Regions from separate parts of the Homo sapiens genome. Here regions 1 and 3 are each linked to region 2. Evidence: promoter capture Hi-C in human tissues and cell types (Jung and others, 2019). All regions are on one chromosome and are shown on one strand. The core of a region is centred on a gene start or on the middle of the fragment in contact, and the rest is flanking DNA. Distances in the headings are between cores, read along the strand shown. Region 1 has its middle 9.1 kb from the start of GPM6A. Region 2 holds the start of SPCS3 (signal peptidase complex subunit 3). Region 3 has its middle 83 kb from the start of GPM6A.

Region 1 (3,785 bases), core at 312-2,811, 500 kb before region 2:
TGGAACAAAGTATGATAGGTGCAATTATATTAATATTAATGACAATTATACTCAGCACTTCACATGTGTGAGGCATTGTTCTAAGTTTCTAAAAAGTGTATATCCCATTTAACCTTCACCACAACAGCCCTGTCAGGTAATTACTATTGTCCCCATTTTGATAGAGGAGGAAATCGAAACAAAAAGATTAAATTCTTTGTAGCAAGTAACAGGGTGGGGAAGATGGGATTTAAACATAGGCATTCTGACCCCAAAGCCCATTCTTTGAACCACCTGGATATCCGCCTACACTTATGTAAGTAGTAGACCCAAAGGCATTTAATGTAGGAAAAGGCCCTGATTGTAAAGTCTTCTCACAACATGAATATTTGTATTCATCCAAAAACAAAAACATTTAACTGCTTCCCATATGCCCAACATGTTGCCAGATGCTGTGAGAGACACACAAAAAAGTTGAAGAAATGATTCTCATACTCAAAGAACTTACGATTGAAGTTAAAAATATTAATACTCAGTTTAAACAGCAATAAATCAACAAAAGTGTGATTTCAGAGTAAAACTACTATAGGGAGTTGAAGTAGAGAACGTTCTTTAAGATTTCTAATATGCTTGATAGCTTTCGTCAACAAATGCAATTATCATCTAAGCGGTTTAGCAGAAATATGGAGACTTTTACTCAGTGGACGTATCTCTGATCTTCAAACTCTATTCAGTGCCACAATTTAGCCATTAGGACTTTATGCACAGTTATTATTCCTTCTTATTTTCTTTTTTTAAATTAGCTCTTGAGACCAAAATAATAAACACTTGTACTACCACCCAACATAGAAAATAAAGTATAAAGTCGATTATACGTGTTCTCTAACTGCATTCCTTTCCTTATATCTTCTTCAGCCCTACCTCCTGTTAATAATCACTCAGGACTGGAGAGTTTTTATTCCTGTATGTTGTCCTTATTATTTAATATGTGTGTGCATGCATATGTGTGTCTGTGTGTATACAGATATATATACACACCATAGTTAGTATTGTTTTGTAGGTTTTCTTTTTTCTTTTCTTTCTTTTTTTTTTTTTTTTTTGAGATGGAGTCTTGCTCTGTTGCCCAGGCTGGAGTGCAGTGGTGCAATCTCTGCTCACTGCAACCTCCCCTTCCCGGGTTCAAGTGATTCTCCTGCCTCAGCCTCCCAAGTACTGGGATTACAGGCATGCGCCACCACGCCCAGCTAATTTTTATATTTTCAGTAGTGACAGGGTTTCACCATGTTGGCCGGCTGGTCTCAAACTTCTGACCTCAAGTGATCCACCTACCTCAGCCTCCCAAAGTGCTGGGATTACAGGCATGAGCCACCACACCCGGCCTGTTTTGTAGGTTTTGATTAGATATCAAGAATATCTTCTTATATGTCTCTTTTCGCAACTTCTTCCTCAATCTTTTAATGTATATGCGGATCTGTTGATAAACATTTAATATTGTTTCTAATTTCTAAACAACTGTAAAAAATTACAATGAATATTTTTATATATGTTTAGTGCATACATTTAAAATTTTCCCTACAAGTCTGAGGTGTATGTATGTGTGGAATCATTGGGTAGGAGATTATGTATGTCTTCAATAATATGTGTGTTAAAAAGCCCTTCAAAGTGCTTGTGCCAATTTAAATTTCCCTAAGAACTATCTGAGAATCCTACTGTTCTACGTCTTCTATACTTAGTAATTTTTAAATGTTACCAAAGATAAATCTTTTAATTTACATGAGTATTAATTATATATCTTAATATGATTTCCTTAAGTATCTCATAAAGTTGAGAACATTTTCTTGCAATTAGCCAATGATTTTCCTCTTTTGAGAAATGTATATTCATGCCCTTCACTCATTTGCCCACAGTATTGTTTGCTTTTTGGTATTATTCTATAGATGTTATTTGTAAGTTCTGAATACTAATTCCATAGCAATTAAATGTCTAACATATATATTTTTACAGTGCCTTAGTTAATCTTGGTTTTTGGTCATCTATATATATTTTAGAATCAGCTTTCAAATATAATGAGGGGGAGGTGAACTTATATTTATTGAACTTAAATTAACTTCATAGATTAATGAGACATAATTAACATTTTTACAAAATTGAATCTCTTTCCATGAACATGAGATCTCTTTCCATATGTTGAGAACTTTTTTTCATATATTTTAAGAATGTTTTAAAATGTTCTCCCTAGGAGCTTTGCATATTTTTTTTTGTTTTTATTCCTAAGTATTTTGATTTCTTTTAGAGGTATTTTATACTAAATCTCTCAAGACTTTTTTTGACTGAAGCAAAGGAACACATTATTGGATTTTAAAAATCAGTCCTATAAGAAGCAAATTTGCTAAACTCTCCTATAGTTCTAATAATGCATAGGTCTTGAAATTTCTATGTAGAAATTCACATATTTGAATTAAAACAAATATGAGTCTAACTGTCCAATCTATATATTTTAATTTATTTCCTCTGTTTTACTGTGCATTCTAGGGTCCCCAACACAGTGTTGAATTGAGCAGTGATTTTAAAAGAAATGATTCTATGGTTTCATTATTATGTGTTATTTGTAGTAGGTTTGCATAGACATTTTTTATCTGTTTAAATAAGTTCCCTTCTAGTACACATTTCTGAGGTTCATTTATTATAAAGTATTGAATCAGAAAAAATGTTTTATTCTCCATCAAGTAAGATGATTATACAAATTGCATCCATTTATATATTAAAGTAAGAATTGCATTTGTAGATTTTCTGATGTTAAACTCTGTTTGCATTCCCAAACAGAGAATTGGTCATGATATGTAATTGCTTTAATTTCAATTTAATATTTTGAAAACTTCTTTTAATTGGAAATCTTATCCTTTTCTATCTATTTTTCTCTAAACATACATAATGCCTTTTTAAAAAGCTGTCCACTTTAGGAGAATCGTTTATTAAAATTTTTGGTATATCCAAAAATGGGAATACTGTATAGCAGTTAATGATTACATAAGTTGTCTGTATTAACAATGAAAAGCTGTTCACAATAAAGTGATAGAAGTATATAACAACAGTATAAATAGTATCCTTTTGTATTTTAAAATGTTCATAAACATATGCATTGAAACAAACCTATACAGATCTATTGGAAAATGTTAAGAGTGCTTATTTCTAGAAAGTGGTATTTGAGATAATTTATTTAATTCTTTTCATGCTTTTTTTTTTGTTTTTTGAAAACATTGTACTTTAAGTTCTGGGATACATGTGCAGAACTGCAGGTTTGTTACATAGGTATACATGTGCCATGGTGATATGCTGCACCTATCAACTCGTCATCTAGGCTTTAAGACCTGCATGCATTAGGTATTTGTCCTAGTGTTCTCCCTCCCCTTGCCCCCAGCCTCTGGCAGGCCCCGGTGTGTGATGTTCCCCTCCCTGTGTCCATGTGTTCTCATCTCTTTACATGCTTTTTGATACTTTTTATATAGGTACAATATTATTTTAATTATCAGAAAACTTAATAATTTTACAAAACTGACAATAATAAGTTGGTTACCACTAACTGCAGCTAAAATGTTATAGACATTGGGCTGGCGATTTTTATAATTTTTTTTCTAACATTCGTAACACCTCTGCAAGATAGCTTTCTTTCATGTGAGAAAATTGAGGCTTTCAAAGGTTAAGCAACTTTCTCAAGGCTACGCAGCTGGTGAATGAGGAACTGAGATTTGAATTTTGGTTTCCCTAATACTAAACTTATATCACTCAAAAGATAAGTCATTCAATAC
Region 2 (3,720 bases), core at 562-3,061:
TCACTCACTCTCCACATATAACTGGTAAATGGTTGCCTGTGTAGCGATGCTTGTTTTACATGTAATTTCCCTGATATAAAGTCAACTTCTTGACCTGGTTTTCTACCATAACTTACCTTTCCAGGCTTATTTCTGCTTACTCTTTTATACATGCATTGTTTATCAGGACCAGCCTTCTGAGTATCTCTTAGATATACCTGTACTTGCAGTTCAACAACAAGAATTATTTCCCTAAAACATGCTATAATAATAATGTGTCTTGTTTAGGCTTTGTGTTAAATAATTTGCACACTGTGTTGTCCCACATTACCAGGGCTGTAATTCCTTCCTCCTTTGCTATGTAACTTCCCAGGGTATTTTTTTGTTTTACATTTCAGATTTGTTTTTATTTTATTAACTCTACCTGATTATATACTTTTGAGTGTAGAAAGTGATCAGTACAATCTCTGTATCACTTGCAGTATAGATGGCATTCAATAAAAATCCTTTTTTTTCTTTTTTTGTTAACAAACTGTGCCAGCCTGGAAGTTAAAAACTAAGATTTTAAACGCAACTAAGGATCTCTCTTTAGTCTCTATTTTATCGATTTTTCATTAGTTGGCTCTATTTGAGCAGGGAGTCTGCCTTATTAGTGCTGTATTCTCAAGGCTTAGAACTATTCCTGGTACACGGTAGGCACTTGGTAATAATCCTACCTGTATGGCTATACAAAAATTAATTGAATGGTCATGAATAATGCAAAGAAGCAAAAGCTTAACAAGAGACAACATAAGCCAGTATCAAGATCAGATGTTCACAGTTTTCTGGTTTGTTCCTGATCACATTCCAGGACAGATATTTTTGTTTGGTTTATGGACTGAAATTTTTAAAAAAAATTTATTTCAGCAGACCCTGAATCCATTTTTATAAAAACCCTTAGCTGTGAAAGGAACAAAGGTTTTGGCAGATAGTATAATCAGAGTCAGGATTGGCTCGGTTTGAACCCTAATGCCCTTCAGGATATTGAAAATGTGATAAAATAATTGCATTATTTATTAATGACCCAACGAAATTCTTATACATTATGCTGTAGAGCAATTCCGCAGCCATTATCTTCTTTGCTCCTAAGAACCCAGAAAGGTTATCCTTTTATTTATCAGAAATCACCATGTTAAAATGCAAATACTTAGGATCGGTAGCCTCAACCCTTATCTTCTAAAACATCTTTAGCTATCCATACAAAGCAAAGCATTAATAGGAATTGGACTGACGTTGGAGGTGGAAATACTGATGCACGTGACAGCTTTAAGGACTTGGGCGGCTAATTCCCCACTCCCCACTGCTCCTCAGATCCTCCAAAAAAAGCTCAAGTCCTAACTTTGACCAGGTTTGACAAAGAAGGGAGAGGACCAGGCGTTTTGTAAAGTGCTGCTTCCAAACGCCACCCGTCAGGACAGATTCTAAACCACCTTAACTTGCTGCCGGTTTCAAGTGAAAATAAATGGTACATAAGTAATCAAGAAGTCGCAGTCCCAGACCTCTGACCAAAGAACCGAAAAAGGACAGCGAACGACCGGTTCCCAATTCTCTGAACCCAAAGGTCGGAGAAGCAATTTAGAAGAGGAGGGGGTGGGTCTTCCACAACAAACCCCGCCCCTCCCTCACTCGTCGCTGATTGGTGGCGGCGTTAGGCCGCGACGGAGGGGCGGGCCCGCGGCTGAGTCTCTCCCTTTCCGCGCCGCCCCGTGCGCGCTGTGGGTGTGTTTCGGGAAGCGGGCGCGCGCGCGCTCGCGTCGGAGGACCGGAAAGGAGGCGGGGCTGCGGCGGCGCGCGCTCCCGGAACGCGCGCACCGCAGACGGCGCGGATCGCAGGGAGCCGGTCCGCCGCCGGAACGGGAGCCTGGGTGTGCGTGTGGAGTCCGGACTCGTGGGAGACGATCGCGATGAACACGGTGCTGTCGCGGGCGAACTCACTGTTCGCCTTCTCGCTGAGCGTGATGGCGGCGCTCACCTTCGGCTGCTTCATCACCACCGCCTTCAAAGACAGGAGCGTCCCGGTGCGGCTGCACGTCTCGCGGATCATGCTGTGAGTGAGGCCGGGCCGGCGGTGCAGGACGCCGGGACCGGGCTGGGGCGGAAGCCGAAGCCGGGCCGCCGCGCCGGGGCTGCCGTGCCGGGGCCGCGGGCAGGGCGTCCGGATCGCCCTCCTGAGCGGCAGTTCGCCCCCGAGGGCGGTCGTCAGGGGTGGACGTCGCAGGCTTTTCCGGCGTCCCCTCGGAACTTGCACCCCTCCACCGTAAATTCCCGGGCTTGCTCTTAAATTTTAATTTTGAGCGTTCCTCAGGTCGGTGCCTCCGCTTGCTTCCTGTTCCTCACTTCCCTCCACCCACGCCTGGCCAATGAGGGAGCAACACAACAGCAGAGCCGGCGCCGCCGCCCGCCTGGGCTGGCGCCTCCCGCGCGTCCGGTGCCGCTCGTGGTCCGCATGCGAGGCCCTCCAGGCGCTGCCGCCGCGCTCTGGGTCGGGCTTCCGTGGGGTTTCCTGGCGGCTCTGGAGGCCACAGGACGGGGTTGTCTTTGTGTCATTCATCACCCGAGTTTGCCCTGTTTGACATTCCCTTTACAGTTGTTGCCTTTGCACCTTCAGAAGGCAGTAAACAGTTGGAGCTGCTTTGAAGTTGGCCAGAGATGTTGGGCACTGAGAGAATTAAGCATCTTAGCCTTCTGATACAGCGAGATTTTTGTTTTGTTGGGTTTCTTTATTTCTTTTTCTTTTGCCAACCACTTGAAGAAGTCTGCGAAAACGCCAAAAAATGCAGTTCGAAATGACAGTGCCATTTCGCTATTGCCTATTTTGTCCTTGATTTTATTCTCTGGCACTTTTGTCTTTAATCGTCGTATTTTTCCATCTCTTGTTCTCATACCCTTCTACTCTATTTCCGTCTTACACAAGTTCTTTAACCTTAGTTTATTTCTTTGTCAGAATCGCCAAGAAGCCAGTTATCAAATAGCGAGCCTTCTCCCCCCACCTTTTTTTTTTTTTTTTAAATTACTGTACTGATGTTTGTTAGATATTGTTCGAATAGACCTGGGGTGGACATCAGCACTGCCATTGTCAGCCCTGTGAGGGTTAGAAGAGCTTGGTGCATATTAAACACTGAACAGATGTTAGCTGTTGTTGTCTTGAGCAAGTTTTCTTACCATTCTGGGCCTTAATTTCTTTTTGTTTAAGATGGAAGTAATACCTAATTTTTAGGTTGTGAGAATTATTTGAAATGTGAAAAATATTGTCAGTGGGTCTGAGCCGTAGTAAACAGTAAATAGCAGCTGGTTACAGTAGTATCCCCTTAATGGGGTAGGTATACGTTCCAAGACCCCCAGTGGATGGCTGAAACCACGGATAGCACCAAACCCTATATATACTTGGTTTTTTCCTATACCGTACATACATACCTACCTATGATAAAACTTACAAGTTAAGCACAATAAGAGATTAACAATAACATAATAGAACTGTAACAATATACTATAATAAAAGTTATGTGAATATGATCTCTTTCCCCTTCTCTCAAAATAACTTATTTTACTGGACTCACCTATTTTCACACCAGATTGACCGCGGATAATTGAAACCGGAAAGTGAAACCTCGGATAAGGGGGTGATTACTGTATCACCCTTTAATATGCCATCTGTTAGTATTCGTATCACCTTGTAGTCATGTGTAGCTTTCTTCTACCCAT
Region 3 (3,410 bases), core at 516-3,015, 420 kb before region 2:
GTTCACTGAAGAATATAAGTTTATTCTAGGAATGTGTAGTCTAAGATAACCTGATATCTATCAACTCATCTCTTTGTAGGACATGAAGGTGCTAAAACTCGGTAAGAAAAAGCGATATAAATTAATTAACAAAATGATATAAAATATAATGATCAACATTTGAGAGAGCTGCACACCTCACATTCTATCTCTGAGATCATTCCTGTTGAAATGGATTGGTCAAAAATCCAATCCTTAAAAAAGACAGAGATTAAAAATAAATTAATCTCTTATTTCAGAGACCCCTTAACTCCTACTTCTGAGAATACTGTTGTCTCAGTGTGGCTGATAATTTCACAAGTGCTTTATCCACCTTCTTTGTTGATCTTAAAACTGAGATGGCAGATATAATTGGAAAACAGAAGATAAGATAGCAGACCGTCCTCATGTTAGAATTACATTTTTTTTTAGTTCTTTGAAGATACTTTTGCTCAGAAAAAAAAGGAAAAGTGATAGACCAAATTAAGTGTTCTCAGCAACTACTAAGTCCAAGTGGGAAATCATCTATATCTAATCTATAGGAAGATACTTCTGTATATAGCGAAAAAGCGAGGAAGGGGTGCTAAAGAACAATTGCTCTGCCTTAGCTCGAAAGACAGAGTCACAAAATATAAAAGACTAACTCTGTCTGATAGAGTGACTCCCCTCTGAGGAAATAGCTGCTCCATTCTGCCCACAATTGCTTTTCATGAAAAGAAAGAGATTTTTATGCATGCAAAAAGAGTGTGTTCCATGGTTAATAATGTCTTCCAGTTAATAATGAGACTACATTTTCTACCCTTCTACCTTTCATCATTCCTAATCCAGAGTAACCTGCACAAACAACAAGAATACAAGGATTTTAATGTTAGTAGTATATATTTTTAATAGTAAAACCACAGAAACCCCTCAAAAATCTGTCAAAAGGGGAGTGGCTAAATCATTTTGGCTAATTAATTTCAAACACACTCTAGTATCATTTAGGAGGAAAACTCATACACAAAATATTATACAAAGAATACATGACCCCATTTTCTTATATAAGGGTCTTCGAAGTTCAAAAAGAGATTAAGTATCACATCATGCATCTACTAAGTGGCAGGTCCAAGTTTTAAACCCATTCTCTGTTTCTAAAAGTCAAAACACTATTACTGTAACACACTGCTTCCCAAATCAGTATACAGCATTGATAAGACATGTTACAACTGGTGTCTTACCATCCCTTTTTTTACTGTGTTACTTTGTGTTTCAGGGGACCCAGAATGCGATAGAGTGAGAAACCATGAATCAGTGAACTTTAAAGCAAACTCAAATACTTAAAGGCAAAACAAAATCTTCTTTGATCTTTAGAATGAAATCATCTTGTGATTCAGTATGCCAGTGAATGACTTGAGATGCCACCAGTGTAGCCAACTTGCTTTTAAATATGTGATCCATTTTGCTCTGTTTGGTAAGCTTCTATAAGGGCTGGAATAAACTAAATGACTCCATTTGGTTGCTATAAAGAATACGTGATTCAAAATCCTATTTATATTTTTCTCAGAATAAATTTAGGTTAATTTCAATTAAAGTAATACTGATATAAACAATGCATCCTATCTTTTCAAAAAAAATGGTGAATAAGTTAACTTTTCTTATTGCCAATTGGAAAAAACTAAGAACTTGGAAGGTAACTAACATTTCAAAAGTGTTACATGTTCTTTGCAGAAAATTTTGAAAACACAGATGAGGAAAAATAATATCTACAGGTATGTATATCACCAAGAGATATATAGTTACTAATAAATTTAAACAGATGACATGTTATGAACAAGTTAAAATTCCAAATCAACCTATTAATATAGTAACAGTAGGATATTGGTAAAGTCTCAACTGTAGAAGATACAATTAATCAATGTCACAAGTACTTAATAACATAGAAATTGTTGAAAATGGAATATTTATTTGGTTTGCAATATTTTCCAAATTCTGTATTAAGTATACTGTATATGATGTATGGGTATAATAGTGCATTTTTTGTAATTACCTCAAGTTAAAATATTTCCTAACAGCTTTTTTAGTAACTCTTCATAATCATACCTTGGCATAAACCCTGAAATATTTGATCTACTTTGTTTTTTATTTTATTATGTTTTCTATTACATTGGCTTTTATTAATCCTGAATCTCTCCATCTGTGGCCTTTTCCTATGACCTTTACTAAGCAAAGTTGCTGTTAACATCTGGTTGTTAAAATATAATTTGTAGTAGCTTTGTAAATAAAAAAGCGTGAACCACATATTATTACTTTTGCAAAGGATTTATAAATATGAGTCAGTAAACTCACTAGTTTCCATCCTGGAAGAGTGGCAGGAAATTAGACTTTTATCTTTTGGGGAAGCTTTACATTTCAGGATGATGAAGTCTCAGGGGGTTTTGGGGGACTCAAGGTAGATGGTAAGATCCCACATCGTTCTGCTTTGGTGACCACAGACACTTAGCCCAATCCATATAGTTCCTCAGGCCACAAAGTTCTGGGGTCTCTATGACAAACTTTTTAGGGTCACAGGTACCTAGCATCCTGCCTCCCTAAATGCACCAGAAAATTATCCTCAGATCATTCAACCTGCTCGGGGAGGTGCCTGGGATTCTGATGTGAGTTCAGCTATTCCTGAGATCCAGACATGTCTGCCCCCTTTGAAGCCTTAAGCCTTGATCTGACTCTTCAAAAGCCTTATTACTTCAAATTCTGTCTTCACTCTACCCCAGTTATGGACCCAACACTATTTCTTTAAAGAGTTTAAGAAAATTCAAAAAGCCTTTAACTCCAAAAGGCTTCTGTTTCTGTTTTCTGCTTCTGTTTCTGTCTTCTGCTTCTGTTTTCTGCCTTGCAAAAATCTCCCCATTAGATAGGCACCACAGGCCCTGTCTATCTTCTTGGGGTGGGGGCAGGAGACAGGGTAGAATCTGGGGAGAAATACATAAAATAATATCTTAGTAAAGCAACTTGCCATCACATTTGTTATTCAAGGCCATATTCTGTGTTAGTCAATGAAAAGACATTGATGTTTGACAGGACTTTTGGTTCATTTGTTTGTTTCAAATCACCCAGAAATCCTCTTCTTTGAGGTGGCATCTTTCATTTGAATAGTGTATCAGGGAAAATTATTATATTCACTGAAAATGTTTAATTCAAGATGATTAACTCAAGCACTTAAAGATCTCGTTTGCCTCATGAATCAGTCAGGGCCCAACATAGAAAACAAAAAGCATTCTAAGCATTTAAATCAAAAAAGTTAATACAGGGAATAAGATGAATAGGGGACAGAAGAGCCAAGAAGCCACATAGAAGACAGGGAGACATCCTCGGGATTAGGAAATGTAGGAAGCTGGTGTCCAGCCTGGGCTGGAGGG

The links. Contacts are between HindIII fragments. The study calls those that stand out against the background at their distance.
Region 1: a contact is called between a fragment that was not itself captured here and the fragment with the promoter of SPCS3 in region 2, in 1 of the 25 tissues and cell types used here (dorsolateral prefrontal cortex).
Region 3: a contact is called between a fragment that was not itself captured here and the fragment with the promoter of SPCS3 in region 2, in 1 of the 25 tissues and cell types used here (dorsolateral prefrontal cortex).

The regions. Positions count from the first base shown.
Region 1 is chr4:175,819,440-175,823,224 of GRCh38, forward strand. It overlaps a transcript of GPM6A not described here. Among named protein-coding and RNA genes, the nearest start is that of GPM6A, 9.1 kb to the left of the region's middle. The HindIII fragment of the contact is 7,955 bases long and covers 1-3,785 here.
Region 2 is chr4:176,318,155-176,321,874 of GRCh38, forward strand. It overlaps SPCS3 (signal peptidase complex subunit 3), which reads left to right and starts at 1,812. Exons shown (of 5, transcript NM_021928.4): 1 at 1,812-2,065. The coding sequence starts at 1,923. It overlaps SPCS3-AS1 (SPCS3 antisense RNA 1), which reads right to left and starts at 2,356. Exons shown (of 4, transcript NR_186171.1): 1 at 1,991-2,356. RefSeq lists an enhancer at 1,623-2,123 and silencers at 2,106-2,225, 2,346-2,415, 2,446-2,525. The HindIII fragment of the contact is 9,129 bases long and covers 1-3,720 here.
Region 3 is chr4:175,893,776-175,897,185 of GRCh38, forward strand. It overlaps a transcript of GPM6A not described here. Among named protein-coding and RNA genes, the nearest start is that of GPM6A, 83 kb to the left of the region's middle. The HindIII fragment of the contact is 4,982 bases long and covers 1-3,410 here.